Linked DNA regions of Homo sapiens: regions 1 and 3 are each linked to region 2. Evidence: promoter capture Hi-C in human tissues and cell types (Jung and others, 2019). All regions are on one chromosome and are shown on one strand. The core of a region is centred on a gene start or on the middle of the fragment in contact, and the rest is flanking DNA. Distances in the headings are between cores, read along the strand shown.

Region 1 (3,277 bases), core at 120-2,619, 1.9 Mb after region 2:
CAGGCATGAGCCACCATGCCCGCCTAATATTTTATTTTGTAGAGAGGGAGTCTCTCGAACTTCTGGTTTTAAGCAACCGTCCTACCTCAGCCTCCAGAAATGCTGGGATTATAAGCATGAGCCACTATGCCTGGTCCCTATAATTTATAATACCTCAGAATGCAACTTAACTTCTACCCCTCACCTCTTCTGGATCTTTGAATAATCCCCAAAAGATTATTTTGCTTTAACAGACTTGTTACCAGAGAAATGGGGTCAGAATGTAAACATGTATTTCCTTCTGGGTGGGCTGTTAATTTAAATTTCCCGTGAGTCTATGAAAACTTATTCTAACGTGCCCATCCTCAGACACAATTAGGGAATTTATTTTTAAAAATGAAAGAAAAAGGTTAATTGGATTATCAAACCTTAACTTAGTAAGTCCTTATGTGAAATACAACGTAACCATAAAAAAGATTAAGGTAGATTTCCATGACCTGATTTGGAAAGAACTCCACGGCAACTACAATATTTAAATGGTTTCCTTTTTATGCTTTAAAAAAAAAAAAAGAGAGCTTCTTTGTGTGTGGTATAACCCCATGTGGTTATGAGGAAACAATAATGGGAATGCACACACAAACTTTACTATTAAATGAGCAGAGGAGACCACAGACACTGTGGGTGCACGGCTTCATTCTGATGTGGGGGTACTTTTAGGTAGTGACTGGCTTTTAAGTGGGATGAGTGTTTTTCATATGACAAGGAAAGAACAACCCAAATTCATTTCTGAGATCAGAATAATATTAAATAGTCATTTTACTGTAGTCTAGTTGGTAATAAAAATATATAGTCCTTCACTCTACTTGTTAGCTGAGTTTCTAAATATAATTTCCTATTATTCTAATAATTACTACCATAGTAGTTGTTAATATATCATTAATATTAACTATGAATATTAATACAATTAATTAAATTAATGTAATGAATGATAATGAAGTAAATATACTTGAATATTGTCTATGACCTCAAAATAGTTAAATAAATTTGGGTTGCTCTTTTCACTGGGACACATAAATTGTTAGAAATTAAACTTGTATCCTGCAATGAAACATGTTATTTCTTAAATTTTAAGAGAAAGCCAATCAACTAAATCCATTCTATGAGCAATACCTCCCAAAACAAGATCAAAGCAGTCAAGAGAGATTCAATTCAGTAAACATAACTAGAATATCTAAAACTCAAAGATTCTTTGGTAAAAAGAGAAATCTAGTTAACAATGAATTTAGATACTGGATAAATGACCCTCAACCCCTCACCCTCAATCTAGTTCAAACTGTATATAATACTTTGGGCCTCAGGACATCTCAAGAAGTACTTTCAAAATAACAAAACAAAACACAGCCCATCGTCTAAGCAAACTAGGTGTAATAAACAAGGTAAGCTATAGGAAGGTTATTCACTTAAAGGAATAAAAAGTAAAATGGGTAAGAAAGCTTGATATATATAATATCTGTATTATAAAGCTTGTTATATAATATCTGCAACAAATACTGAACTCTAGGATAGTAAATCTTCCAATGGAATATAATCCAATGACTAATTCACACAAAACCTGTGATACATTAAATACATACAACACGTTAGAAATATATAGGGGTTTTGTTATAAAAATATGAAAATTTAAATCAAGGACTTTCCAGGTTAAAATGATGTTTAAAACTGCATTTACTTTAAGTGCCTCATGAAACATCATCAAATCACAATAAAGAATTAAAAAAAAAAAAACTTTTATTTTTAGAGACAGGATCTCACTCTGTCACCCAGGCTGGAGTGCAGTGGCGTGATCATAGCTCACTGTAACCACAATCTCCTGGGCTCAAGCAATGCTCCTGCCTCAGTTTCCTGGGCATCTAGGACTACAGCCGTGTGCCACTTTGCCTAATTTTTATTTTATTTTTTAAATAGAGGTGGGGTCTCACTATGTTGCCCAGGCTGCTCTCAAATGCCTCAGCCTCTTGAAGTGCTGAGGTTATAGATGTGAACCACCACACCAAAGGAATTATTTATATATATATATAAAAGACATACAGTTATAATGATGAAGACAACAGAGGCAACAACAGGGATAAAAATTATAAGGGTTTAAAAGAAGGTTAATGAGACACAATAAAAATTAACTCTAAGTTGGCGAAAGTCAAGAAGTAGCCAGATTTGCTACACTGCAGTACTGTCCCACAGACCCAAAAACTGGGTCCTCATGAAGTAAAGGTAGGGATTTACAAAAAATGAGAGAAGGGATGGAAAGTCTATTTAAGAAGTATGTAGTTAGATGCTCAGTCCCCTTCTCTGCCCTTGAGATCACTGCCCCCTCTAGCCACAAAAGACTAGATGCTTATTCTAGGACAACAAAACCTAAGGCCCCTGAACAGGGGACACAAAACACAGAGACAAATGAAGTGACAAGCTGAGACAGGGATAATTAAACCTTTCCACTCTTCAATGCAGGGACTCCTAAGTCCTCTTCTTTCTACAGCTTCCGAAGAGCGACAGCAGGTCTGAATTTTCCAGGCAGGCAAATAAAAGATACTTACGGAAAAACCTTAGTGGCCCAATAGCAGACAGTGCCATTGGGAATTTCCCAGTGAAACAAGCCAGCTGGGGCTCCGAACTAGTGAAGCTCAGTCACCAAGCCCCTCCAAAACACACCTGGCTTCCACAGAGTGCCTAGCATAATAAATGAACCCGTACAACATTGGGGACAAAGATCTTACAAGCCTACCAGAAACTGAAGTGGAGAAAAATTACCAAGAAACAATGGCTTTGGACTTCTGAATGGTACGTCCAGAGCACTACCACAAAAGTCTCTTAAATTTTCACGGAAAAAATATTTCCAACAGACAACTAAATACCTAGGCAAAATTATCCATTCAGTATGGTGATCCTAGACAGGTGACTCTTGCCTCTCTGTGCCTCAGTTTACTTACTCATCAGTAGAATGGATGTGATAATATACTGATAGCACAGAGTTGTTATAAGATTAAATGAGTTGGATGGGCATGATGGCTGACGCCTGTAATCCCAGCACTTTGGGAGGCCAAGACAGGCAGATCAACTGAGGTCAGGAGTTCGAGACCAGTCTGGCCAACATGGCAAAACCCCATATCTACTAAAAATACAAAAATTAACTGGGAGTGGTGGCACATGCCTATAGTTCCAGATACTTGGGAAGCTGAGGCAGGAGAATCACTTAAACCCAGAAGGTGGAGGTTGTAGTGAGCCGAGACTGCACCATTGCGCT
Region 2 (3,480 bases), core at 1-2,500:
TTGCAAAAAGAATGGAATTCCAGTTCTATTCTACAATGGCATCAATACTGCAATACTTTCATCAAGTTATATAAAGAAAAACCAAGAACATTGGAATAAGAGGAACAGGAGCTTCCCCCATCTTGTCATGTTCAAGTAGTTTGTGTCTGCTCCCCTAGCCACCAACAGTTTTAGCTATGCTATCCCAAGGGCAAGTGCAAGCCTGTCATCCAAGCGTGTAATTCTTGACCCAGGCTGGCCATCTCGGTTGTGGCTTGCAAGTCCCGCTGGCATGTGATTTCCCAAAGGAGCCAGTCTTAGTCCGTAACCCCTTACCCTGTTCATTGTGGAAGTCCGGGGGCCCAAGGGCAGAAAGGGCTGCAGGGATAGCCTCATCAGAGGGCACTCAGGCAATGGAAGAGATGTGGCTGTGTTTCTGCTCTCTGCAGAAGAGAGTCCTGGAGGAGGGCCAGCAGCTGCCCCGGGTGCTGGGGAGACAGCAGAAGAGGGTGGACATCAGCAGGGCCAGGGCGATGATGAAGGTGAGCACCCATCGTAAGACACCCGGGTAGATGAAGGGCCCGATGAGGATAATGAGCAAGGCCAGCAGGAGTAGGTGCGCGGCCAGGCGCCGGGCTGCCACGTGGTTTGCACTTACTTCATCCTGTCCATCCTCTCCCACCAAGCTGGGGTGTCCTGCTGCCAAGTCAGCAGGATCCACCAGCCCCTGAGGACAGAGCGATACCTCTGTGCATGGCTGGGCCAGCTGCCCCACCACCGCCTCATGGTCGCGCAGGCTGCAGATGAGGCCCCCGGGGACGGCGGTGACCTTGCGGCACAGCGGGCAGGTGATGGACCAGGTGTTGTCCTGCACGCACAGCAGGAGCTTCAGGCAGATGGCGCAGAAGGCATGCTGGCAGGCCAGCAGCTTGGGCAACCGGGGACAGCTGTAGGGCTCCCGGCACACCAGACACTCCAGGTCACATTCTGTGGAGCCAGAATGACCCCCAGCAGGGGCCACAGCGGTGGTGGTTGTGGTGGCTCCTGCGGAGATGGGCTGGGACTGTTGCAGGGTCTTGGTGCAGGCCATTCTGGGCACAGGGACCGGTGGGACACTGTCGCTCAGCACCTGGGCATTGGCAGAGAGTGTCAGCTGGCGCCGCTGGGACTTGGATGGAATCTGCCCCTCCTTTTCACTCTGGCCAGGTGCCTGTTGACAACAGCTGTCTGACACTCCTCTCTCCCAGAGCTGCCCAGCTTGTTTCTTGGCTTACGTCGTCCCTTCAGTTATTATTATTTATTTTCTCAAAACCTAGGGTTAATCAGTAACTTGCGGGTCTGGAGACTTTGAATTGCCTGATAGGAGGGCAAAGTGGGCAAGGGTCTAGTGAATCAGGACTTTCCTGTTGGGGCCAGGTACCTGGTGGGTGCCCACAGAACTGTGGCTCAAGCTTTAGGAGGCAGCAGAATCCAACTCTCTCACCCCCACTTCCCAGGTCCCTGAACCTTTTATTAATTTTTTTTATTTAACTTTTTTTTTTTTTTTTGAGACGGAGTCTCGTTCTCTCAGGTTGGAGTGCAGTGGCCCGATCTTGGCTCACTGGCATCTACAAATCTGCACAATAAACAGACAGCCCTATGAGTCGGACATAGGTGGATTGGTGGACACTGCTTTCTCAGACACAAACTTTTGGATGTCAGGATGAGTGGAAAAAAGTTTGTTTGCACTTGGAGCACATTTACAGGCAGGTGGCCTTGGAAAGAGGAGGGGAGAGGTAAGAAAAGTGAGTGGAAGGAGGACAAAGCCCAACCCAACGCAGAAAAACAAAACCACATACAGCGCACAGGTGTTTGGCACCTGCTACTGTATTCATTTCCTTAGAGCCACAGCTGTTGTATTCACAGTTACGGGTGTATGAACTTCCCATCGGTGCCCTGCTGCACACTTCACATGCCTAATCACAGGTGTCCTGTTTTGTGCTAGGCATGCTGCGTATCCAGTAGTACTAAGAACAGCTGCCATTTATTTGGGCCTACTCTAAGCCAAGCCCTGTGCCCGGGGTCCCCAGCCCCCATTTCCCGGAACCCTGATACAGCCTTGTAGGGAAGGCTGGGAAACAAGGGCAGGGTGTGGTCAGGGTAGGCTGCTGGCTGCCTGCCAAGGGGCCTTCCATGGAGCAGGACCTTGTGGAATCTACCAGCGTCCAAGGTCTGGTTGAATCAATTTCATTGGTTCATTTGGACACAACTGGCCCCAGCCGGGTGGCGTAGGCTAAGAGGACTCATGTGAGACAGGCAGATATTAGTAACACAGCAGTTAGGAAAACGTGATTTCCTTACTTTGCCCTCAAGGGCAAATGGCGGGGTGGCATGTGCACTCCCTCAAACAAATGTTTCATTCAGGCCACTCTGAACTCAGAAGCCCGTGTGAAGGATCCTTTGGTGCTCATGTCACCTGCCAAGGGCCACACAGAGTCCTGTGCCTCTGATTCAGCTCTTTCCCTTACCCCAGTAGCTGGCACTGCAGGCCACCCTCTGTGTCCTGGAGTCACCAGCCCCAAAGGGGCTCCCTCCCTTGTGGGATCGGTAACTCCCACCTCCCCACTCCCCCTGGGCCCTCTATCTCTGAAATCCAATACTCTCACCATCCCATCCCATTTCTTCTCAACCTGTAGCTAGACCATCAGTTACCTCTGTGAAAGGAAAATAAATCGTGGGGCCCCAAAATCACTAAGCCACAAGGGAAAGTCAAGCTGGAAACTGCTTAGGGCCAGCCTGCCTCCCATTCTATTCAAAGTCACCTCTCTGCTCACTGAGACAAATGCATATCTGATTGCCTCCTTTGGAGATGCTAATCAGAAACTCAAAAGAATGTAACCATTCTTATCCACCTGTGACCTGGAAGCCCCTTCCCCACTTCAGGTCTTCCTGCCTTTGCTTCAAGTTGCTCCACCTTTTCAGATGGAACCAATGTTCATTTTACATATGTTGATTGATGTCTCATGTCCCTCTAAAACGTATAAAACCAAGCTGTGCTCTGTCCACCTTGGGCACATGTCATCAGGACCTCCTGAGGCTGTGTCACGGACATGTGTCCTCAACCTTGGCAAAATAAACTTTCTAAATTAACTGAGACCTGTCTCAGATACTAAGGTATAGATACACATCTATATCACGTTTTCCCCCAGATCAAGCTGAAGGTGGCCTTGGATCTAGGCATGTTTTTTCCCCCATGCCTAGCATTCTTTCCCCTTTTTTGGGTAACAGTTCTCTGTTTTCACTTTGGGCAACCACTGCTTCCCACCGTCATTCTGTGCTCACGGAGAGGGTGATGTCTGGCTCCAGCTCTCTGGAAGTGGGGCCCTGATACAATTCAGGACAGGCCAGTTAGCATGCTCTGCTCTGCTAGCTGCAGCCATTGGTTTGAGCGTAGGCATATAATCGAAGCCAAGCCAATGAGATTCAATTCTGAGACTTCTGTTGGAGCCCTTGAGAAGTTTC
Region 3 (3,609 bases), core at 56-2,555, 1.2 Mb after region 2:
TTTCCAGCAAGTTCCAGAACAAAGAGTTTCAGCAAGTTCTGAACAGCACCACAGTGGCTCTTCTACCACAGCCTTTGGCTCAACCCTACAGAGAAAGGCTCCCTATCTGAGCCTCTACTCAGCCCTAAGGTAAGCGTTTGCTCTTTATATCTTATATTCTTGAGAGTGCATAGTTTTTCTCTCCTGATTAGACTCAGATTAATACACCTTAATAGTAAGTTGAGAGGTTGTGTTCAGTCTAAGAAACCCAACACAGGAACCTCATTTAAACAATCAGGAGCTCATTTTGTTTTGTTTTCAATGTTTAAAACTCCAAATTATATAGGAATGATTTAGACTAAGTTTAGGTATAGCACTAAGTTCTTGACAAACTTATATTCATTAATAGGGCTATTTCAGTCATGGTTTGGCAAACTGTACATTCCTTTTCCAAACATTCTATAGTCTAAAATATAATTAATCAGCACATGGCCAGGAGATCAAGGCCAATCTGAGCAACATAGCAAGACCCCATCTCTACAAAAAATTTAACCAAAAGAAAAAAATTAGCCGGGCATGGTGGCATGAGCCTGTGGTCTCAGCTAACTGGGAAGCTGAGGCAAGAAGATCACTTGAGCCCAGGAGTTAGAGGTTACAGTGAGCTATGATCATGCCACTGTACCCCAGCCTTGGCCACGGAGCAAGACCCTGTCTTTAAAAAAATAATAAGGAATAAAAATTGTCCCTAAAAAATAATGAAGAATAAAAAATAAAATCAGCCCTTAACTTATAATCACCACCTTTAGCATTATTTTTAGTAATTCCTGATCTCTCCTATTATTCAATCTCTAAAAGGCCTAAAATATGGAGGCTAAAATCACAAATAATGTTATAAAAATGATTTTCATTATCAAAAGAGTAGCTGTTACATGTAAATACTGATAATCTCACACAGTTAGATCAACGTTATTGGCTTGACTCAGTCCACATTCTGTAAGGGACTTTATAACTCTAGCCAACTTTTAACCACAAGGAAATCCAAACAAGCTTGCAACAGTAGGTCGGTGCAAGCTAAACAATATATCTTGGCAAACAGCTTAAGTGCAAGGAACACATAGGAACATCCTCCTTAAACAGTGTCTGAACGTCTGTTGTTACTATTAAGTAGAAATACACTAAGGAGTTCACAATTCTTCTAACAGTTCAACAAAAACTTAAGCCTATCAAATTACAATAATCGACTTACAAAACAACCAAACCAACAAACAAAAAATCCCACTGATGCTACTCAAGAGGGGAAGACACCAAGTTTTCACATAAGTAGAAAATAACCATTAATGCTTCACCCGAAAGGGGTGCGAGACGGTAGCAGATTAAGCATCGAAAAGCAAATCAGTGCTTTGTGGGGGGGTTTTCCAGTAAACTTTAGAATAAAACTCTAACTTCTTAAACAATGAAAATGAAAACTAAATATCACCAACAGTTAATTTTTAATGACTTCAAAATGAAATGTGTGAAATTTGTTAGTAGCCATCTTTATGAACGGTTAAGTCTGAAAAGATGCCAAAGACAAACTTGAAATTACTATACAAGTAATGTTTTATGTTACTGCTTAGGAGTCTCTTTAGAAAAACAAAAATGATGCCTTTACAGGGACATTTCTTATTTTTTTAAAAAAGGTTTATCTTACTTGAGAGAGTCCAGGGGACGATGCATGTCCCGGGGGCGTTGCCGCAAGATTTGGATGCCCCTTGTTTATTTCATGTGCTGAATAAGGGGATGGGGTAGGGGTTCCCGGCTGTCTTGCCACTTGTGTTACCTGTGAGGAAATCAATATTTAGTAAGAACATTATATTAGTAAATCAATCTTAATAAATACAGCTGAACTATCTGATTTTTAATTGGATTTCCTACCTCACAACTTACACTAAAATAAGCACGAGACTGAACAAACACTTAAAATTTTTAAAATTGAAAAAAACAGAATTCTTTAAAAATATATACATGAATATTCTCATCAATTTGATAAAAGATTCTTGAAGCATGATCTCAAAACCAAAAATCATAAAGGAAAACACATGCTACAGGAAAGAAACAATACTTCAAACTACAAACTGTATGATACCATTTTGTAAAAGGAACAGAAAAGAAATAAATGGTTGAAAGAGGAAGGAGATGACTACAGAAGAGGAACAAGGAGATTTTTGAGGGTGACAGAACTGTTCTGTATCATGCTTATAGTGAGAATTGAATGTCTCTGCTTGTCAAGACTTATGGACGTATACACTAAAAAGGGTGAATTTTACTAAATTACATCTCAATAAATCTAAACTCCAAAAATGGCAAGTTACTTATACGACATAATCTCATTTTTGTCTTTAAAAACATATATCTGGCCAGATGCTGTGGCTTATGCCTGTAATCCCAGCACTTTGGGAGGCCAACACAGGAAGACTGCTTAAGAACAGAAGTTTCAGACCAGCCTGTGCAACATAGCAAGACTTCAACTGTATTTTATAAAAAAAAATTTTTTTTTCATTAGCTAGGCATGGTGGCATCCACCTGTAGAAATAGTTACTTGGGAAGCTGAGGCAAAAGGACTGCTTGGGCCCAGGAGTTCAAGGCTTACAGTGAGCTATGATCACACCACTGTACTACAACCTGAGTGACAGAGGAAAACCCTATCTCTTTAAATACAAAAAAATTTTTAAAAAGGACATCTAAATATACATATACATACACATGTGTAGGAATATTTCTATATACATTATTTGTTTACGTATGCATATAATACACACACATACATCTAAAAACATGTATATGTAATATTTTTAAAGATCTGTAAAGAGATATACCAAAATCTTAACAGAAAGCATTACAGGTATTTATTTTCTCATTTATATTTTCTAATATAATACAATAATCACAAATTTATACAACTGAAAAATAATCAGCATGTTTTTACGTAACCAAAAATTTCATTTTCTCCGTTTTTTGCAGGCAATAAATTGCTCATCAGCCCATTACGGATATGAAACCACTTTACTCAGACCCCTAGTGGAAGTGTCTACCAATCAATCCTAGCCAGCTCTTCCCTCTCATACACTAATGCAGACTTAACACTGATGGTTTTGCAAACTTTCATGAATTATGGGCAGTTCTGTCCTCTGCTAAAATGAAAGAAGTCATTCTCCTTAAGGAATAGTTCTTAAATTTGAGAGGAACACAAACCCTTTGCCAATCTAGCATAAAATACAGACTTCTCAGAATCGTGTTATTAAATACATAAAATACATAGGATTATGACAACAAATGATCTATATTGAAATACAGGTATAAAAATATTAAAACAAATTCCTAGCTCCCTCCTCTCCCTCTCCCTCCTCTCCCTCTCCCTCTCCCTCTCCCCACGGTCTCCCTCTCCCTCTCTTTCCACGGTCTCCCCCTGATGCCGAGCCAAAGCTGGACTGTACTGCTGCCATCTCGGCTCACTGCAACCTCCCTGCCTGATTCTCCTGCCTCAGCCTGCCGAGTGCCTGCGATTGCAGGCGCGCGCCGCCACGCCTGACTGGTTCTCGTATTTTTTTGGTGGAGACGGGGTTTCGCTGTGTTGGCCGGGCTGGTCTCCAG

Evidence for each region. Contacts are between HindIII fragments. The study calls those that stand out against the background at their distance.
Region 1: a contact is called between a fragment that was not itself captured here and the fragment with the promoter of RNF186 in region 2, in 1 of the 25 tissues and cell types used here (aorta).
Region 3: a contact is called between a fragment that was not itself captured here and the fragment with the promoter of RNF186 in region 2, in 1 of the 25 tissues and cell types used here (psoas muscle).

What each region holds. Positions count from the first base shown.
Region 1 is chr1:21,709,050-21,712,326 of GRCh38, forward strand. All of the region lies in intron 15 of USP48 (ubiquitin specific peptidase 48), which reads right to left. Among named protein-coding and RNA genes, the nearest start is that of RAP1GAP, 41 kb to the left of the region's middle. The HindIII fragment of the contact is 4,321 bases long and covers 1-3,277 here.
Region 2 is chr1:19,814,033-19,817,512 of GRCh38, forward strand. It overlaps RNF186 (ring finger protein 186), which reads right to left and starts at 1,251. Exons shown (of 1, transcript NM_019062.2): 1 at 1-1,251. The coding sequence starts at 1,069. The coding sequence ends at 386. It overlaps RNF186-AS1 (RNF186 antisense RNA 1), which reads left to right and starts at 377. Exons shown (of 2, transcript NR_186008.1): 1 at 377-521. RefSeq lists an enhancer at 2,712-3,243. The HindIII fragment of the contact is 3,016 bases long and covers 454-3,469 here.
Region 3 is chr1:21,049,197-21,052,805 of GRCh38, forward strand. EIF4G3 (eukaryotic translation initiation factor 4 gamma 3) reads right to left here. Exons shown (of 37, transcript NM_001391906.1): 4 at 1,670-1,798. Among named protein-coding and RNA genes, the nearest start is that of MIR1256, 63 kb to the left of the region's middle. The HindIII fragment of the contact is 4,079 bases long and covers 1-3,345 here.